Regions from separate parts of the Homo sapiens genome. Here region 2 is linked to region 1. The links are contacts of gene promoters, found by promoter capture Hi-C in blood cells and fetal thymus (Javierre and others, 2016). All regions are on one chromosome and are shown on one strand. The core of a region is centred on a gene start or on the middle of the fragment in contact, and the rest is flanking DNA. Distances in the headings are between cores, read along the strand shown.

What was found. The method cuts DNA at HindIII sites, captures the fragments that hold promoters and counts their contacts. A CHiCAGO score of 5 or more calls a contact.
Region 2: a fragment that was not itself captured here is called in contact with the fragment with the promoter of ADRB1 in region 1 in 2 of 17 cell types (monocytes and M1 macrophages); the score reaches 5.3 in monocytes.

The regions. Positions count from the first base shown.
Region 1 is chr10:114,040,693-114,047,010 of GRCh38, reverse strand. ADRB1 (adrenoceptor beta 1) reads right to left here and starts at 3,145. Exons shown (of 1, transcript NM_000684.3): 1 at 107-3,145. The coding sequence starts at 2,878. The coding sequence ends at 1,445. LOC124902554 (a long non-coding RNA gene) reads left to right here. Exons shown (of 2, transcript XR_007062383.1): 2 at 1-49. RefSeq lists silencers at 3,048-3,107, 3,178-3,457 and an enhancer at 3,728-3,777. The HindIII fragment of the contact is 8,909 bases long and covers 1-6,318 here.
Region 2 is chr10:113,927,596-113,933,913 of GRCh38, reverse strand. No RefSeq gene overlaps it. Among named protein-coding and RNA genes, the nearest start is that of NHLRC2, 76 kb to the right of the region's middle. The HindIII fragment of the contact is 200 bases long and covers 2,282-2,481 here.

The DNA.
Region 1 (6,318 bases), core at 1,896-4,395:
ACCTATTAAAAGAGCTCTATGGGAAATCCAGTCTATATTTTGAACAAAACAAGCTGTCTTTTTCATTGTCACTGACCCTTTACAGACACACAGTACATAATCTTGATTGTGCTTCATTGGTATTTATTGCACATGGACCAATTCCTCACACAGTAGTTAGTTGCACCAGAGTATAAATACTTGGTAAAACACACAAGAGGAAGTAGAATTTACACACAAGTGCTAACTTTCACCAGCAAATTCACGTGGGCACTTGGACATAAAAAAAAATAAAAAATCCTTAAGATAATTATATTTATAATATGGATACAGTTACAGTACCATGATAAAGGAGTATAAAAAGGTATTTTCCCAATGAATCATTAGCTCAATAACATACTAGACAACAGAAGTAGAGTTTGAATTTTATTTAAGATCTGCCCAGCCCCTCTCCCTTTAAAAAATATTTAATTTCTTTTTGTGCAAGTAACATCTTCTGTGGATTTTGTAATTCCTAACACTGTGCAAAAATGGCATTTTGAACCACTCCTTTTTTTTGTTTTTGTTTTTATCCACATGTGCAGTAATCTGAACTGTTTCTCTCTCTCGCTCTCTTTTAATGTCCTGTCTTCAATTGACAGAGTCACATGTCACAGAGAGAGGCTCTGCGCCTGGTCCTTCCAACTAATATTGATACATAAATAAGCTGTTTAATATAAACAAGTCTTTCTATCTGCTGTGCAAATGCACAGTGTGAGGTAGAAATCCCTCAGCCTGACCACCCAGGCGCGCGGGGGACAGCGGGTTTGCCCTACACAAGGAAAGCAAGGTGGGGCTTGTTCCAAGAAGAGCTTAACATTTCTTGAAACGTGATTTTTTTTTATTTTGCCTCCATCCTTTCTCTTTGCTTTCATAACAGCAGAAATCATTACTTAGAAATTAAAATGAAATTTCTCTGGAAAGCAAAAGGAAATATGTCTTGACAAACTGTCATTCTCCTCTCTCTGGCTGGTAGTGTGTTCCTGTTCCCGGGAAAGGGATGGGAGCCACGATGATCGATTTTAATCCCCTCCTAATGCTTCTCCCTTCCCCTAACCCACCCATCTTCCACTCCGGTCCTCTCAGAGAGTGTCAAAAACCACCTGGTGGGGGAAAAAAATCTAAAGATGCATCACACGCACACACAAAAGAAGGCCGGACCACAAACAGAAAAAAAAAAAAAAAAAAAAAAGAAGAAGAAAGAAAAGAAAAGAAAAAAAAAACAACAAGGAACATCAGCAAGCCACTCTCCCATCCCTTCCCAAACTTTCCTTTTTGTGCAACGGTCCGTGGCTTTTCTCTTTGCCTCGGATGATTCAGACGAGGATTGTGGGCTTCGAGTTCACCTGCTATCGGTCTTAAGTAAACACAGATCTCCTCGTTCCCCTGGGAAGCCGTGCCCGGAGTCCGCGCCCCGCGCCGGGCCCTACACCTTGGATTCCGAGGCGAAGCCGGGGCGGCACGGCTCGTCCAGGCTCGAGTCGCTGTCCGCCGCCGCCCCGCCGTTGCAGCCGGCCCAGGGCTCCAGCAGGCGCGCGGGCGGCGTGGCCCCGACGACATCGTCGTCGTCGTCGTCCGAGGCGGCCCCGGGCGATGGCGGGGGTCCGGGCCGGGCCAGACAGCCCGAGGCGCGCGGCCGGTCTCCGTGGGTCGCGTGGCGCCGGCGGGCAGCCCTGCGCGCGCAGCAGAGCAGTCCCTGGAAGGCCTTGCGGAAGTCGGGGCTGCGGCAGTAGATGATGGGGTTGAAGGCCGAGTTGGCGTAGCCCAGCCAGTTGAAGAAGACGAAGAGGCGGTCGGGCACCAGCTCGCGGTGGAAGGCCTTCACCACGTTGGCCAGGAAGAAGGGCAGCCAGCAGAGCGTGAAGACGCCCATGATGATGCCCAGCGTCTTGAGCGCCTTCTGCTCGCGCAGGGCCACGAGGCGCGAGGGCCGCCGCTTACCCGCACGCCCGTTGGCCAGCGGGGCGGTGGCGGCGGCGGCGGCGGGGCGCGGGGGTCCGGGCGGCGGCGCGGGCGCGGGGACGGGCGAGGGCGAGGGCGAGGGCGGCCGCGCTGGGCCGCCGAGGAAACGGCGCTCGCAGCTGTCGATCTTCTTCACCTGCTTCTGGGCCTCGCGGAACACCCGCAGGTACACGAAGGCCATGATGCACAGGGGCACGTAGAAGGAGACTACGGACGAGGCGATGGCGTAGGCCCGGTTGGTGACGAAGTCGCAGCACTTGGGGTCGTTGTAGCAGCGGCGCGCCTCGTCGCTCTCCGCCCGCCACCAGTGCATGAGGATGGGCAGGAAGGACACCAGGGCCGAGATGGCCCACACGGTGCACACGAGGCCCCGCGCCCGCGCGCGCGTCAGCAGGCTCTGGTAGCGGAAGGGCGAGGTGATGGCGAGGTAGCGGTCCAGGGCAATGACACACAGGGTCTCGATGCTGGCCGTCACGCACAGCACGTCCACTGAGGTCCACAGCTCGCAGAAGAAGGAGCCGTACTCCCAGCGGCCCCACACCACGATGGTGGCCCCGAACGGCACCACCAGCAGCCCCATGACCAGGTCGGCGCTGGCCAGGGACATGATGAAGAGGTTGGTGAGCGTCTGCAGCCGCGGCGTCTTGGCGATGGCCACGATCACCAGCACATTGCCCGCCACGATGAGCAGCACGATGAGCGCCATCAGCAGACCCATGCCCGCTGTCCACTGCTGAGACAGCGGCTCGGGGCTTTCGCTGGCGGGAGGCAGCAACGAGGCGGGCGGCGACGCGGGCACCAGCAGCCGCGCCGCGGTGGCCGCGCCGTCGGGGAGCGGTGCGGCCGACGACAGGTTACCGGGCTCGGAGGCGCCCAGGACGAGCACCCCCGCGCCCATGCCGAGCTGCGGAGGCCGGGGGCGGGGGGTGTGGCAGGGCTGGGCCGTGGTTGGGGAACACCCCAGAAGCCCGGGCGGCGTGGTGCGCAGAGGGAGGTCGCGGCCGGGTCAGGGCAGCCGCGGCGCGGGGCCGGAGGCATGGGCGCCGGGCGCCTTTCCCGCAGGAGCCGAGCGCTGTCGCTGCCGCTGCCGCCGCCGCCGCCGCCGCCGCTGCTGCTGGAGCCGCTGCCGCTGCTGGAAGAGCCGCCGGGACTTCAGCATGTTTCTGAGCGCGCCGGGCCCGCAGCTCCGGCACCCAGCACCCACCCCACCCCGCTCCCACTCCCCAAGCCAACCCCCGGGGCCTCGCGTCAGGCTCCTGCAGCCAATCCGGGCAAAGGCACGCCCCCGTCTGGTCTGCACCCCCACCTCCAACTCCCCGCACCCCCCTCCCGTTGGCAATTGAGCGGCTCCTGAGAGTCCCGAGCTGATCGCGTAGCTAGTGCCTCCCGTGCGCCCGCGGGTTCCTGCGGACGCACCCCTTCCTGCGCCCGCTGGTTCCTGGTCCCTGTTCCCCCGCGCCCCCTTCCGCGCCTGGCTCCCCCCGGGGCCCCGTCCCCTCCCTCAGCCCCCACTCGCTCCCGCACCCACTCCTGCGCCCCGTTTGCCTCCCGCACCCGCTCCTGCGCCCCGTTTGCCTCCCGCACCCGCTCCTGCGCCCCGTTTGCCTCCAGCACTCGGCTCCCTCCTGCGCCCCCGCTCCCCCCGCATCCCCTCGACCTGCAGTTCCGGGGTTCTCTGCGGAACAGAGCGCTAGCTCCCTTGAGCGGGGAGGGGACCTTGGTGTTCAGGAAGCGCCAGAGCGCCTGGGACAGCTTGTCCGCCAGGCTTGGAGGAGTTTGCCCTGCGAGCTTGGTTGTGATGTGGGGCAGCCTAGCAGGGTGTGTGTAAAACCCTTCCCCCGTCAAGACGGGACCCAGCCAGCATGCGTCGTGACAGCTTGGGGGATTGGAGGTGGGTGTTAGTGGTTAGAAGAAACTTCCCAGCAGAGCGGGTTGCTGGAGCCAAGCGCGCATCTGTCAAGAATGCTCTCTGGGCGCTGTTCTTGCAAGGATCCTCTGTTGAACCTCGAGTGCAGTAGATGTGGAAAGGAAGCGAAGGTTTGTGCATCTAACAGCTAACGCTGAGGGCCCTTTGGAATCGTACACACTCCTCAGTCCTAGCTAATGAACGTGTGAGCATGATGCAAAAATGTATGCTCATGATATGAAAGGAGAGGCTTAGGGAGACAGAAACGTTGAGATACAGAGTAAACGATACCACCGCGAGGGGGAAAAAACGCGTTTAATTACATTTTAGACTTTTCAATGATAACACCTGTATTTTGTGTTTTATTACTCATGTGATTTTATAATTTGAGCTGGGTCAATACAAACAAAAAGGTACTGTCAGTTTATGCTGACGTAATGAACTGCGATTTCAGATTCCTTGGTCTGCGTGCTTGTTTTCTCCTTTGCCCAAGTTCCCAGATTCTCAAAACTCTGAGATTAGTTTTGAAGGGATGAGACAAGAAAACATATAAATACTCCAGAGGATTAAAATCCAAAAGCATTTAAAGTTGTATCTGTGGTTTTTTTTTTTTTTTTTTTTGAGTTGGCAAATGAATTGCTTTGAAATTAGTGAGTTGTTAACCTGGCAAAAAGGATTATACTGGGGGTGAGGGGACAAGAAAGCCATGAATATGCAATATGGCAGGACTGCAAGCCCCTTCTCTAATTTGGCTCCTGTAGTGTCCTCAGCTCAGGCCTGAAATAAAAAAAAAAATAAAAAAATTAAAAAAATCTCTAATTGAGTCCTTGAGGAGTAAACAGCTTCTAATTGTTTATGTAAGGGTGCATGAAAATGTTATATAATGCTCACAGGTCCTTCTAGCATTGGAATAAGAACAGCGCCCGTAACGAACATCATGTTCGTTGATGGTCATCAATATGACCAAGCTCATATCCTTACCTTGCAAGGAGAGACCGACTTCCACAGCTGTCCAGGTCAAAAGCAAAAAGTAATGTTTTTCAAGTTTATATAAAATCAAGCAGTTTTAACCACTTTCTCTTACATAAATGCAAACATATGAATTTGCTTTAGGCCCAAACCTCAGCATCAGTATGTTAAAACTGGGGAGTGATTTGTTTATTCACCCCCTGCCCATGATTTATCAGCTGATTTTCCAACTTGGGGAGGTTGAGGAGGAGTGGCCAGGAAACAAGAGGCGTTAGAAAGGGGAGGAAGGAGACTACACCCCAAGTTATCCAAGTCACTGAAAGCCTGAGACTCCTGGCTTCTTTCTTTTTATTTTTTTGAGACAGAGTTTCACTTTTGTTGCCCAGGCTGGAGTTCAGTGGCGTGATCTTGGCCCACTGCAACCTCTGCCTCCCGGGTTCAAGTGATTCTCCTGCCTCAGCCTGTCAAGTAGCTGGGATTACAGGCGTGTGCCGCCACACACGGCTAATTTTGTATTTTTAGTGGAGATGGCGTTTTACCATGTTGGTCAGGCTGGTCTCGAACTCCTGACCTCAGGTGATCCACCCACCTTGGCCTCCCAAAGTGCTGGGATTAGAGGCATGAGCCACTGTCCCCGGCCTCCTGGCTTCCTTCTGGACCCACAAGGGGCAGTCTCAAAATAGCCAAGGGATTGGAAGAAGTTGAAATTGACGCTGCCCAGGAAAGGAGTTCTGAGTGCTGAGCTGCAGGGTGAGGCATAGGGAATGTGGGGAAGAGGCTTTTCCTTGCCATCTTTCTGTCAAGTGGTGTTACCGGAATAGAGTGTGTCAACCTTAAATGCCCCCGAAGGGTGGAAGGCATTGCTTTTCTGTGTGCGATAAGGCCAGAACTTGGTCGTAGAGGTTCAGGGCAGAAGCCAGATTGCCAGTAACTTTGCCGTATCATCATTATATATATAAACACATCGTGACATTGGAATTGTTGGAAAACTTTCCTGAAACTTTTTTTCTCTGCTCATTCAGAGATACATCAAGTTTCTCCGAATTTCTGTATAATACATTAAATTATAAACCCTCGAAACCAGAAGGTTATTCTAGCAGGAGTACCAGTACAGGGATCTCAGGAATTCTGGGGGATTTCCTTCAATTTTACTGACAGAAGAGTTTGGAATAGTACATGTTCAACTAGAGTTGGTTGTCTAATAAAAATAAAATGTTCTCAGAACTCCTTTAATTCCTACATTTTATGATTGGTGTTTTTTTTTTTTAACTTTTTTTTTAGCCTAACACTTTTTATTCTTAGGTAAGGATACAAGATCAAGAAGAAAAGGTTCAACGTATCAACTTTTACAGGTATCGGATATTGTAAGTTAAATAAAACTCCTTCATTTCTTCATTCTTCACTTGGCAACTGTTAAAGAGAGTCAGTTCTAAAAACCCATATATTTCACAATGCTTTGGAAA
Region 2 (6,318 bases), core at 1,132-3,631, 110 kb after region 1:
AGGGAGGCCAGGTGCGGTGGCTTATGCCTGTAATCCCAGCACTTTGGGAGGCTAAGGCAGGTGCATCGCTTGAGGCCAGGAGTTCAATACCAGCCTGGCCAACATAGTGAAACCTCATCTCTACTAAAAATACAAAAATTAGCAGGGACTGGGGGTGCATGCCTGTCATCCCAGCTACTTGGGAGGCTGAAGCAGGAGAATCACTTGAATCTGGGAGGTGGAGGTTGCAGTGAGCCGAGATCACACCATTGTACTCCAGGCTGGGTGACAGAAAGAGACTCTATTTCAAAACAAAACAAAACGAAATGAAAAAAGAAAAGAAAAGAAAAGAAAAAAGAAGAGGGAGGCAGAAAGGATGCTCTTCAGATTCAAGGCCATGGCAAGGGGTTTGTGCTCAAATTGCAGTTTTTGAAATGCAAGAATTTCCTCTTTGGGAGCTCAAATAGTTCATCATATGAAATTATGATTAAGGTTTAAGGATTTTTCTTAAAATGGGAGTCAAAAATGCTTGCCAACGTTTGGCTGATCTGGTGAAAGCAGCTGTACCACTTAACTTTCACCAGGGCCCAGTGACTAGTAATTCACAATTTGTGGTCCAGTGGGCTCTCAAGCTGGAAGGGACCTTAGAGATGATCCAAACCCACTCCTTTGGCAAACGGAGAAGCAAAGGCACAGAGATCCACTTCAGTCCCTTCTCTGTCCTCTCCCTGTCCCAACTAAGTGGACAGAGAGCTCTGCTCTCCATTTCTCTCCCTATTTGCTTCTCTGCTATCTTCTCCATAAATCCACTTTTCTACCTGCACAGTCTCTGACTCTACATCACTCAGAGTTTAAGTTGTGTGCTCCCGTGGGGTGTAACCATCCATCTATTTATCCATCCATCCATCCATCCATCCATCCATCCATCCATCCATCCATCCTTCCATCCAGTCTCCTGTTACAATGTATCTAGGTTTGGAAGGGTGACACCCTAAACCATGTGTTAGCTACTTCTTCATCAATTACTTGAAGCCCTGCTTTGGACCAGATCCTACATAGGTGACACAAAGCTGCATAAACATGTCAAGGAGTGCTGGGCTGTTGAGCTGAACAGGAGGTGGAATATGATGAATGTCATAAAATAGGCACCAACAAAACGCTCAGGGGGTATTCTCGGGGGAATTCAGAGCAAGTTTTGGGGATGAGTGGGAAGAAGCTTGGAGGGGATCCTGAGGGGCTGGGAGAGAGGATGAGACTCTTTCTTTTATTTTTGAGACAGAGTTTCACTCTGCCTCCCAGGCTGGAGTACAGTGGCACAATCTCGACTCACCGCAACCTCCGCCTCCCCAGTTCAAGCGATTCTCGTGCCTCAGCCTCCTGAGTATTACAGATGGGACTACAGGCATGCGCCACCATGTCCAGCTAATTTTTGTATTTTTAGTAGAGATGGGGTTTCACCATGTTGGCCAGGCTGGTTTCAAACTCCTGACCTCAAGCGACCCACCCGCCTTTTTCGGCCTCTCAAAGTGCTGGGATTACAAGCAGGAGCCACTGTGCCTGCTCCAGAGACTCTTTCTTACCCTGCGTGAGCTCTGCTAGACTGGAACTCAATGGCTGGGGACCTGAGACTCAAACCATTATAGGCAGAAAGAGTCTTTAAAGTCTTTGCATTTTAGCTTTATAGGTAAAGGCACCCTTACCCTCTCTTTCCCCAACAGCTTAAAGAAAAAATAAGTCAACGTTTCTCTTTGGAGTCATATAAATCCTTTCTCTCTATGTATGGAACTAAATGGCTCCCTGAGAGGCAAATACCCACTTCATCATGGACAAATTCAACCTGAAATTAAGAAGCCTGCCAGGAAATGGCCTAAAGTTATCCAGAGCTTCACTTAGCCTTGTAACCCTGACCTATGTCCATGTCCCTATGTTATCACAGATGTCTTTATTTCCTCACAGATTTTGCCTTACTGATACCTCAATTCAAATTGTCAAGGTAATTAAAAATATGTTATATAATATACATACTTGAAGTGCATATACAAGTTTAAAATAGCTTTGTTACAAACAGACATTTTCTTTCAATAAAACTTATTTTGTTCATCCAAACACACTTTGGGCACCAACTTATACCAAACATTAATAGGGCACAAATGCCAGGAGTCACTGGAATGAAGCATGGTGTACCAGTTTTCTGGAAAACAAGCAGAAACTGTGCCTCCTCCCTGCTGGAGGTGTTTCCTTTTTAGAAACAAGTCTTTGAGACTTGAAACCTATTCTATAAATCAAGTAATCAATATAAGCTTTATGGCAAACTCCCTTAAATTCCATGACAAGGAACTCTGAGGCATGGTCTCAATGCTTTTCTTGATTGATATTGTCTGAAATAAGGTTCAGTAAACCTTCGGCCTTGAAAATATTTTAACCTGAGGCATGTGGCCTGTATTTGCCTTTCCTCTGGTGCTTCCAGCACTTGGTGGGCTGTGTTCCCTCGTTCTTCAAGCTTGCCCATGGATTATATAAACGACTTCAGAGCAAGACCCAGAGAAGTTTGATGACCCTTTCTAAGCCAGGCAGTGAGTTGGGATGCCTGAGCCTGGCCTCCAACATCACAAGTTTATCAGGTGGTCATTCATACCATCTTGGGCTGCGACGGACCTAAGATGGCCTATTTTGTGCCAAGGCTCTTGTTTTTCAGATAAGGAAACCAAGGCCCAGAGTGGCTTTTCTTGATCATCCAAAGCTATGGAATCACAGATTCTTAGAGTTAGAAGGTACATTAAGCCTTTAGTTATCCAGTTTCACCTCATACCCAAAGGAGAAACACTTTCCACACACTCTCTGCCAGGTGATCATCCAGCCTCTCCTTGCACGCTTCTTGCACTGGGGAGTACATAATTTTTTTCTGACTTTTCTGTTTACGGACATGTCTAATTGTTGTCAAGTTCTTCTCTATAATCAGAGGAAACCCACTTTCCTGTTGCGTCCACTGACAGCTGCATTCCAGAGATTCCAGAACAAAACCTGGTGTCTTCTGGGTTCCAGAAGGGTTGCTCTTCCCCTGGCATCCCTTAGCCTGACTGAACCATTATGTTTCCTGGAGAGTTAGGGCCAGATTGACTTTCAGTAGCATGGCTTAGCTAGCTATGTTTATTTATTTTGCTTTCATTTATTAATGATAACCATCACCTTCTATAAGTCCCACCCATTTCCCTTCCTTTTCTGACGTGCAGAAAGCTCTTATTAGAACATCAATGAGTTCATTGCACTCTTTAAAATCAAGGTTCAGAAAAAAGCTGGAGTGTGCTTCTCTTGACAAGGCTGCTTGAGTATAATCATAGCTCTGTCACAAAATATGCAGGCTTATAAGGGGTTGTCAAATTTTTTCCTGAAGTGGGAGATGTTTGGGAAAAATTTTTTTGAAAGTTAACTGAAAAGGAACAAAGAGAAAAAATCAAGGACTAAATGATTTTATGCAAGTTTTGCATAGCTACAATTTGCAAACTTTGCTTTGATTAATGAGAATGCAGAGGACTCCTGAAAAAGAGAAAAATGAAGTTTTGAGCTGCACACGTAGTCATGAGTCTTGACCTTTCCATATGATGAGGTTTCTATTATCTTAACCTGGTGAGGAAGCAGATAATATGAATGAACTGGAAGTATTATTTTTCAGCCATCCAGATTCGAACTTCTTTTTCTGAAAGGAAAGATATCCAAGGTGGTCATTTAATAAACATGCAGGTTTCTTTAAGCAATGTTCTGCTCAAATGATTCCAGTTATTACATTACATTCCACTTCATGACTTTGGAGGACTTCTGGATTCTTAAGCATTAAACTTTTTGAAAAAAGTTTCTTTTAAAGCTATTTGGATTTGTATCTCAACATAAAGGAGGAAAATTCAGGTCTTTTTGAGTTCTGCAGACGGAATCAGTGAAAGGTGTCCTGGTTTTCTTCATTTCTCAGGCAAGGCTCTTGGATTTCCTGTGGACAGCTGCTTGTACCTCCGAATCCTAAATGGATTCCTCTCTGGCCTAAGCATCCGGTTGCTTCAAGGGCCCTCACAGACACAGCTCCACATCACATAGCCTTTGGAGGAGCAATTTTAAGGAGGACACGCTCTAAGTAAGCCTGGCACTGAATGGTTTTTCTATGGCTCTCAGATTGTGACAGGGACAGTCCTGGAGTCCCTAGGGCATTACTATGTCCGTGGGGCATTAATGCATCATTCCCTTTCTTTTGAAGTGGAATCTCCCATGCATGCACTCCAGTGATTATTAAGCCTCCTGTGGCCGCTCAGCTTAAGATTTCAGATCTCTCCCTGGCTTAAAATGCACTTTTCATTTTTTCGCCAGCCCTCTTCTCTCACCCCTCTTTGCCCTGAATTAGAAGCATATCAGCCGACAGAGTCACAGAACCTTAAACTGCCCACATGGCAAATTTCTATCTTCTAGTTCTCCAGTTAACTTCTTCTTCCCCTTTCTTTTTCGCCAAACACCAAGGCTAAATGAGATCGCTGCCTGGGAAGAGCATGAAAACCAGCTTACCCTTTCCTCCAAATGAGAATGCAATCCCACCCTTTAAATTTCCCAGCAATTGTAATGAGGATTATGAACAAGCACTGCAGACATCAATTTTCAAATGAAATGTAAGAAGAACCCTTTTAAGTTCCTAATCCTAATTGTAGACTAAGGCAGTATTATTGGAGTTGGTTTTAAAAACCAGGTTGATGATGCCTCAAAATTAAGTTATATTGTACCAGCACATGCAAAAGAAAGGGACATCAAAGAGGGAGTCAATTTGGATGGCAAACAGAAATAAATGCTGGGCTGAGACATTGAAGACATCTGGCCTTTTTGGAGCCCAATGTTTATTTCTTAGGTGGGGACAGTTAGAGACTTTCATGAGAGCTGGCTGTGGCTTTGTTATGACCTCCTCTCACTACTGTGAGTTTAGTTCTGTGGCTGTCTCATTTCCAGGACTGAAATGATGTATTGCTTGTTTAATTTGTTATTCTCTGTAACTTTTTTTGCATTTTAATAAACAAAAGTAGTCTTTTAGGGAAGAAGTCAAGGTTGATCTAAATGCATACAGTCAGAATTAGACTAATTTTTTTTGTACGTAAGTCTATGCACTCTTCACTTGGATGAAATCCCTAAAGAATAACATTTGGTGAAAATGAAATGGCAGAACAATAAAGTAACATTTTATGTATTCAAAAATATTTACATCAAGAGGATTTCTTTATAGCTTAAATTTAATAGAATTTTTAGCAAATTAAGCAGAATTTAGGAAGTGTAGTTTCAGCAGTGGTAAGAATCAAATAGCTTTCCTAGATTATAAAAACTTTGACTATAAGTTTTATCCAAAGATTCATGTTTTCAATTTTAAGCAATAAAAGAGATCTTTGGGGCCAGGTGTGGTGGCTCATGCCTGTAATCTCAGCACTTTATGGGGCCAAGGCGGGCAGATCACGAGGTCAGGCGTTCGAGACCAGCCTGGCCAACATGGTGAAACCCCGTCTCTACTAAAGATACAAAAAATTAGCCGGGTGAGGTGGCGCGGGCCTGTAATCCCAGTTACTCGGGAAGCTGAGGCAAGAGAATCGCTTGAACTCGGGAGGTGGAGGTTGCAGTGAGCCAAGATTGCGCCATTGCACTCCAGCCTGAGCAACAGGGTGAGACTCTGTCTCAAAAAAAAAAAAAAAAAGAGAGATCTTAGACATTTTAAAAGTCTAGTTTCTTCATCATGTAAAACTAAAGCCATAATTTTACACTTAGATAGTTCTTCATAACAATTGAGCCACAGAATTAGACTATTTTAAAGGAAATGCAGTTTCATTACTTTCAACCTCGAGCAATAGAAAATTGCTCAGAAGAGGGAGTCTTTTCGGGATTTGCTCAAATGGAGATATGACATTTGTAATTAACATGTCATTTGTTTTACAGACTTTGAAGTGTTTTGAATTTATTCTCATATGTAATTTTAACACTGCCTCCTGTGATCTTTTTATACTTTATCTCTATCCAAAATATGTCAGATCCTAAATTGATAACACTTGAATAAAAAGGGTTTTGTTGCCCACGATGAAGCAGTGTCAGTGGCTCTAGTGTTGGGCAGATCTGGGTTTGAGTCCCGGCTTGGCAGCACTGGCTGGGTGACTTTGGGTGTGCCGTTTACCCTCTCCTGGGTTCCGTTTCCTCAATGGTAAATGGGAATAATGACAGTCCTCACTTCCTGGTGATGTTGTGAAGATAAGATGACCTAATGCACATTGCCACTTACAACAGGCCTGGGAACGTAATGTAAAGAACAAGAGCTCTTACCCTGAGATTTCTGGGAAA